2 separate regions of the Homo sapiens genome follow, and region 1 is linked to region 2. The links are contacts of gene promoters, found by promoter capture Hi-C in human tissues and cell types (Jung and others, 2019). All regions are on one chromosome and are shown on one strand. Each heading gives the region's core, a stretch centred on a gene start or on the middle of the fragment in contact. The rest is flanking DNA. Distances are from core to core; before and after follow the strand shown.

Evidence for each region. Contacts are between HindIII fragments. The study calls those that stand out against the background at their distance.
Region 1: a fragment that was not itself captured here is called in contact with the fragment with the promoter of FRG2C in region 2 in 2 of the 25 tissues and cell types used here (spleen and stomach).

What each region holds. Positions count from the first base shown.
Region 1 is chr3:75,625,623-75,629,720 of GRCh38, forward strand. No RefSeq gene overlaps it. Among named protein-coding and RNA genes, the nearest start is that of MIR1324, 3.1 kb to the right of the region's middle. The HindIII fragment of the contact is 9,895 bases long and covers 1-4,098 here.
Region 2 is chr3:75,661,712-75,665,618 of GRCh38, forward strand. FRG2C (FSHD region gene 2 family member C) reads left to right here and starts at 2,617. Exons shown (of 4, transcript NM_001124759.5): 1 at 2,617-2,846; 2 at 3,108-3,185; 3 at 3,415-3,492; 4 at 3,816-3,907. The coding sequence starts at 2,669. The HindIII fragment of the contact is 22,089 bases long and covers 1-3,907 here.

The DNA.
Region 1 (4,098 bases), core at 1,406-3,905, 36 kb before region 2:
ATAATAGAATAACTAGAAACAACTCTATGCTAAGCATGCAAGAAAAGTGGGGCATGTTTCACAAGTAAAGTAGGTTGTATTTTTTATAAGGAAAACCATACATAAGATACAAATAAAAAGAGATACCTAACCTTCCCTGTGTTATATTTGTATGGGTAAAATGTTATGTTTTCAGAAATTATATAAAATTCCTGGAAATTTGTCAATGTCCTCCTTATCCATGCTATGTGCCACCATAGAGTAATGAGTCATAATTCCAATTATTATTTTAAATGTTGTGCCAGGCGCAGTGGCTCATGCCTGTAATCCCAGCACTTTAGGAGGCTGAGGCAGGTGGATCACAAGGTCAGGAGGTCCAGACCATCCTGGCTAACCCGGTGAATCTCTGTCTCTATTAAAAATACAAAAAATTAGCCGGGCGTGATGGCAGGCACCTGTAGTCCCAGCTACTTGGGAGGCTGAGGCAGGAGAATGGCGTGAACCTGGGAGACAGAGCTTGCAGTAAGCCGAGATCGCACCACTGCACTCCAGCCTGGGCGACAGAGTGAGACTCTGTCTCTAAATAAATAAATAAATATATGTTGTATGCCACAGAAAAAATCGAATATCCTTGTCAGTTGTGGTATAATGAACTCTCCTCAGATCTTTCATCACAGCCATTTCATACTTTTGGTCATTTAGATATTATTTCCCCCTGATGCTTTCCTGAAAGCTCCTGCAATCAGCTACAGGTCAGAATATTCGTCTCCAAGACAGGACTCCCTCTGAGACTCACAGAAAAGACTATGACAGGTACTCTGGTTATAGGCTTCTGATGATATTGCTTAAATAACTTTAAGACCATACGCTTGACTCAGTTAAGGTCTCCAGAAGTCTGGTTGGGAAATTGATGGGTTCCTGACACTGCTAACCCAAGATCCACAAGACTGGAATTGATTACATGGCACTGAATGAACTGATGAAAATTGATTATAATTTTATAGCTTTTTGGAGCATTGCTGGTTCTTTAATATTCTAGTTTCTGGATTTAAGAAATCTCTTTCTCTTACTCTAACTGTAACTTGCAACAATTTAGTAGATTATACTTTTGTAAACAGAAATGAAGCATTTATCTTTTTTTCCCTGCCTGATTTTTCCAGAATTTTGAAATCCTTACTGAATACTCTCATTTCCATGATGATATAGTTGTTAGCAAAAGTCCAATAAGAATCTATTCACCTTATAACAGGACATAATTGGAAATTTTGGTTATATTATCAAGATTTTTACTGGAATATCATATTTAGGAAGTGTACCTAAGATCAGTTATGACAAGCAATTTTAAGGAAGTAAGGTTGACTTTTATGGAGACAATGCTTACAAAGCACTGTGGAAAACTTTGAGGAAAGTTCTTCCTCAAAGATTATAAAGTCACAACTATCCACTATTTTTATGTGTGTGTGTGTGTGTGTGTGTGTGTATGTATTCCAAATCACTTGTCCTAGCTTGCTCCAGCATGCCTGGACAGAACTAGACAAGCCCCAGCCCATAGTACATGCAATTCCTTATTTGGAGATGCTTCCTTAACTATCCTTGGGCAACTTCCTTTTCTTTCTTTCTTCTATTCCCCTTACCTAATTAAGAAAGTTTTAAACTAACAGCCAATCGGGTAAAGTGTAAATTGTGAGGTCCTATTCCAGCCAATGGAAACTGGACACAGCAGTAGGGTAGATACATCAGGTTATAAGTAACTCTGTCTCCTTTGTTTGATGTGTTCTTGTGGCTGGACAGCTATTGAGTAGCACCCTTTCTGCAGAAAAGTAAAGTTCACCTTGCTAAGAGATCATTTGTTCCCATGTTAATTCTTTTTTTTTTTTTTGGAACATCAAAAACTTCATTCCCAACAGCACTCTGAGAAAAGCCAGCCTGATACCTAGATTACAGGGTTCACAGCCTTATAGGTTAGTAAGGAAGGTCATTTCATGGTAGGCCCAGGAATTTAGGGATATTTTGGGGCCTCAAGAAGAGAGGAATTCACACAAAACTATAAGGACTACAGCTGAAATTTGATAGTATGTTCTTGGCTTGGCTTTTAGCCTGAATAAGGGCTTTAAAAGTCAAATCTGAGATTCTGTATGAAAACTTCCAGCAAAGAAACCTGAAAGCACCTACGTGGTCATCTCCTGTTCTTGCTGCACTTACGTAAATAATCAAGCAAAATCTAACAAAACTAGACTTATTTTTAAAACAAGAATAGTCTTACTTTGATTGTGATCAAAAATGATGGTTACTACAGAGAGAAATTTAATGTTTCAATGGAAAAGTATAACATGGCCGGGCATGGTGGCACATGCCTATAATTACAGCACTTTGGGAGGCCAGGAGTTCAACATCAGCCTGGGCAACATGGTGAAATCTTGTCTCTACCAAAAATACAAAAATTAGATGGGCATGATGGCGTGTGCCTGTAGTCCCAGGTAATCAGGAGGCTGAGGAGGGAGGATCATTTGCACCCAGGAGGTAGAGGTTGCAGTGAGCTGAGATTGCACCTTTGCACTCCAGTCTGGGTGAAAGAGCCAGACCCTGTCTCAAAAAAAATTTTTTTAAAGGAAAACTATAGCCATTGTGGGTTATCAGATTCTAGTCTTGTTTCTTGTTTCTTGACTATTTTTACCTCTTTGCGAACTGGATCCTGCCATCTGATGAATTTTGTCCCACAATGATACTTGGGGAACAAGAAGCCAAGTATTGTCTCTCCTACTAATGCATCTATTGTCAGTTAATTTTAAGGTCTCCAACCCTGGAACAAAGTTAGAAAAGGAAGGTTCTGCTCCCCAAAATGCATAACCAAATTGTGGTACATTCATGTAATGGAATACTATTTAGCCATACAAAGGAACAAGCTATCAACTCACACAAAGACATGAGTGAATCTTACATGCACATTGCTAAGTGGAAGAAGACAGTCTGAGGAGGATACACACAGTGTGACCTCATTTAATGAGACACTGGAGAAGGCAAACTACACAGATGGGAAGCCATTGGCTCCATGGGGTGGGGGTTTGAAGCATTCCATATGATACTTTAATAGTGGGATATCTGCCACAATGCATTTTTCAAAATATGCAGAATTTTACAGGCAAATGGTTAAAGCAAACTCTATTCAAATTAAATAAAATTACTCAGGATGTGGAGTATCCCAGGACAGAATACATCATGTGAAAAAGAATTTATGCTACAAATTACTATGGTTTGGATGTGGTTTGTCCCCGCAAAAGCTCATGTTGAAATTTAACCCCCACTGTGTCAGTGTGGGGTGGTGGGGCCTAGTGGACAGTGTTTGGGTCGTGGGGACGGATCCTTCATGAATAGATTAATGTCCTCCATGGGGGTGAGTGAGTTCTGTTCTCACAGGAATAGATAATTCCTGCAGGACTAGGTAATTAAAAAGAGTCTGGCTTCCTTGGCTTCCCTCTTGCTTTCACTTTTGCTATGTGATCTCTGGTGCACCCCTTGCTCCCCTTCCACTTTCCACCATGAGGTGAAAAAGACTGAGGCCCCACCAGATGCAACTGCCCAATCTCAGACATCCCAGCCACCAGTATTGTGAGCCAAATGAACCTTTTTTACTTATAAATTATGCAGCCTCAGGTATTCTGTTACAGAAGCACAAAATGGACTAAGACACAAATGTAGGTAAAAACTCACTGAAGGTGTAGGGAAAATGGTGTTGACCTAAGTAACTTTGAAAATGAATAGAATCTGTAGGCTGATGGCAAATGAACTATACTTCATCATTGGATTCCATTTTATAAAGTTCTTTCCAACAGAAGCAATTGTGAACAATTGTAAAACCACGGTGTCTGTATCTGGAATAAAACAATGACTTACATAAGTCACAGATGGTGGGAACCAGGTTTCTCACTGTTGAAGTGGGAGGTTACAAATTAGCAAGGCGAGAAGGCTAGAATGATTCATGTGATAGTAGATCAGAGGTGGAGACATCAATGTAAACTTATGTTTAGTTTAATATAGATACACACAGTTCTACATAGAAAACTTTATAATTAGGTGTGTATAGGTAGGTTAGACACACACATATACTTCCTAGCATTGCCA
Region 2 (3,907 bases), core at 1,367-3,866:
ATTTTTGTACATTGATTTTTGCATCCTGAAACATTATTAAATTTATTTATCAAATCTAAGAGTTTTTTTGGTGGTCTTTAGAATTTTTGTATATATGATATTATATAATTATCAAAGAGGGACAATTTGACTTTCTAATTACAACCACATAGATGCTCCCACCAAGACCAATAGACAGAGTCTCTGGGGAGGGCACAGGTGATGGTATTTCTTTAAGCTGGCCGTGTGATTATGACTGGAAGCATGGGCTGAGAGCCACTTAGCTAAGCATTGCCTCTCAAGTTTTTCTTTCTTTTCTTTTCTTTTCTTTTCTTTCGACAGAGTTTTCACTCATTGTCCAGGCAGGAGTGCAGTGGCACCATCTTGGCCCATGGCAACCTCCACCTCCCAGGTTTGAGTGATTCTGCAGTCTCAGCCACCCGAGTAGCTAGGATTATAGGCAACAGCCACCACATCTGGCTAATTTTTGTATGTTTTAGTAGAGACATGATTTGACCATGTTGCCCAGGCTGGTCTTGAACTCCTGACCTCAGGTGATCTGCCCACTTCAGCCTCCCAACTAGCTGGGATTACAGGCGTGAGCCACCACATTCAGTTAATTTTTTTTTTTTTTTTTTTTTTTGTATTTTTAGTACAGATGGGGTTTCCTTATGTTGGCTAGGCTAGCCTTGAACTCCTGACCTAAGGCGATCCACCCGCCTTGGCCTCGCAAAGTGCTGGGATTACAGGCATGAGGCACCGTGCCTGGCCAGACCTGAGTTTTGCCTGAGAATTTCTCTTTCTAAGAAAGTACATCATATGGCAGTTACAAGGTCTCTTTTATCTAAAATATATAGAATTTAATAAATAAAAATTTAAAAAATTTACCTGAGATTAAAGGACAAATCAAAACACATATGTAATATGTTGTCTGTAGGAGTATATTTTAACAGTGACATAAATTATTAATAATCACTAAATGTTATAATAATTTATTAACTAAAATGAACAAAATTCCTATTATGATATCTATGAAAATACTTCCTTAGAGTAAAATATTCTCATATCTTGAGAGGGCACTGGTTAAAAACAGCAAAGATGTGGAAGTCGATGTCTTATCAAGTACTTACTATCAAGTAAGTAGCAGACCCCCTTCACACCTTTTACAGAGTTATCCAAAAAGCAGTCATTTACACAAGAGCAGACAATTTTCCTAGCTTTCTATTGAGTTTATATGTTAATATTGTTAAAAAATGTAACTCAATTTTCTTATAAAATTACCTGACCAAATTTTATATATCATATCAAAATTTATTTAGATGTCAAATAAATTTTATAATATTATAATATATAATGATATCATATTATGATAAGTTCCATTTACATTCAGACAATTTCACTAGGCAGTGTCTGTCTACCACTAATTCTTTTTTGGTTCCACTATTTGCACAGGCAGCACAGCTGGGAAAACACAGACTCACCCAACACAGTCTCTTCCCCGTGTCTTTCTCCTCCTCAAGGAATCATTTCATCAGTCAATCAAGTCATTTGGGACTGGAGGCCGAGTACTCCCTAACATAGAAAGTCTCATTCCTGCATGCTTTCCTCAGCAGAGGGGGAGAGAAGAAGGTCCTTTTAGGGGACACTTGCTTGGACGTAGCCTAGGCTAGTTGGAGGGCTCTGACCAGCAGAGACAGACTCCGCCGCAGTAGGAAGGGATGAGGCAGCTATTCTGAACCTGGAGCTCCACCACACTTTGTCCCGTCTCACTGAGGCAATTTTGAGAGGCTGCCCTGGAATATGGTGGTTGTTGAGAAATAATGTGGGCTTTGACGGGATTCAGGTGGTGTCTGCGGTGTGAAGACAGGAGCTGAATGTTTAGAATCTAGGCTGTTTTTCTTGTGATCAGCTGGGTTACCTGTTTGCGACCAAGTCCATTTTTACTAGGGAGGCTGAATAAATTCCACAGAACACAATGGCCCTCCCAGGATGACTGAGGAAGGGTGAGAAAGGGGGAAAGTTTTTCCACCTAGAATCAGGGGCTGATTAGGTTAGCACTGGCTCAACCTAATCAATGCAATTTTATTGCATTTGATCTAATTATCTTCCCCATTTTTAAGGTAGGAAGGGCCATTTCATTTGGTATTTATTTTTTCTCTGCACTTTTATTTCATCATCTATGTGTGGATCTAATAGACTCAACCATAATTTGACATTTGTTGTTTCCAAGCATTTAAGAAATTATAATATCTATGCATACAACGTTAACACTATGTATAATAAATTCTCTTTCTGTGCAAAATATATAACATATGTCAATATAGACATGTTTAATTGTGCATCTTGAAAGGTGAACAGGATCATAAATACCTCCAGGTAGGAACTGGGACAGAAATCGGAAGAAATGATTCCCTGATCTTCCGGTCCCTGTGCTCCCGGTTCTTTGTTTTCTTGACACTATGACAAGATCCTGAAAATGTCTCCCCTTAACTGTGTCTAGGTCCCCAGTAGAACTACAGCAAGAAACTTCTGATTGAGGCTCTAAGAAGCGGCAGGAATGAGAAAACTCTTCAGCCAATAAGAGTAAGCCACGCCCAGCCGAGGGACGTATAAAAGGCAGGTCTAGCAGACTAACCCACACTCTGCCTTTGGACATGTGAGAGAGCGCACCTTTCACTTGAGCTTCAACATGGGAAAGGGAAATGAAGACCCCGATCTCCACTGTTCCTCCATCCAGTGCTCCACTGACCAGCCCCCTTTCCAACAGATCTCCTTTACAGAAAAGGGCTCAGATGAGAAGAAACCATTCAAAGGAAAAGGCAAGACCGCCTTCTCCCATTCCAGTGAGAAGCACACACAAAGGCAAGGTAAGGCCTTGGGCTGCTCCTATGGAGGCTGGAAGGAGGGTTGGAATCAGGGATACTGAGCTATGTGTCTTTAGCAGGGTTTTATTTTGAGATTTGGGGATGGGAAATGGCTTAGTGCCCTTAGGGGACTTTGAGAAATGTGTTCACTCATGACACTGGCAGAAGAGCTTCACATGAAAGACTGATTCTCAAAAATGCATGAGAGATAGACTATGGGACTCTGCCTAGGGAGAGGTGAGCCATCTAAACCTTCTCTTGCAGCAGGATCAGATCCCAATCCAAACAAGGAGAATTCTGAGGAAACCAAGCTCAAGGCCGGGAACAGCACTGCTGGATCAGGTAAGATTTGACTCTTTCAAGGTGAGAAGGGACAGGGCAGCAACACAGGCTCCCCTGGCAAGGAAACTGGGAGCTCCTTGGCAGCCAGGGCAGTACAGATCCTGGACACTGGAGAACAGAAGAGAGCTGGGGTTTGGCGGTAACCTCAGCTCCTGTGTGTCCAGGATGGACTAGGAATTTCAGGGTGTTCAGTTGGAGGCACTTTCTCAAACTCTCATTGTGTTCACAGAACCAGAGTCCAGCTCATATCAGGAAAACTGCAGGAAAAGAAAAATCAGTTCCAAGGATATCTGCCAAGACAGAGCAGGTAGAATCTTGGTGTTTGTTGTTGTTGGTGGTGGTGGTGGTTTTTTTGTTTTTGGTTTGCCCCAAAAGGCAAATAATCAGGAAACTTTTATACGAGGCTTGAGCGGAAAGGGAATTACTTATTGACAAGTAAATTTTTGAGATCCTAGCACTCTGAGAATATTTGGGGACTCACAAGTGGTTCAGCCTCACTTCATTCCAGTCCTGAGATGGTCAGGAAGGAGTGGGAGAGACAAATGGGGTTCACCTGGGTGCACAGGGGGTTCTGGAAATGAGGGTCTGTGGGGACTGCTCTGGTGAGTCTCTCACATGCTTTCTTTGCAGGGAACTGTCCAGAAGAGGAGTGCAACTTGACGTTGAATAAAAAATCAAGATCCTCCACTGCTGTGCACAACAGTGAAATCCAGGAGACCTGT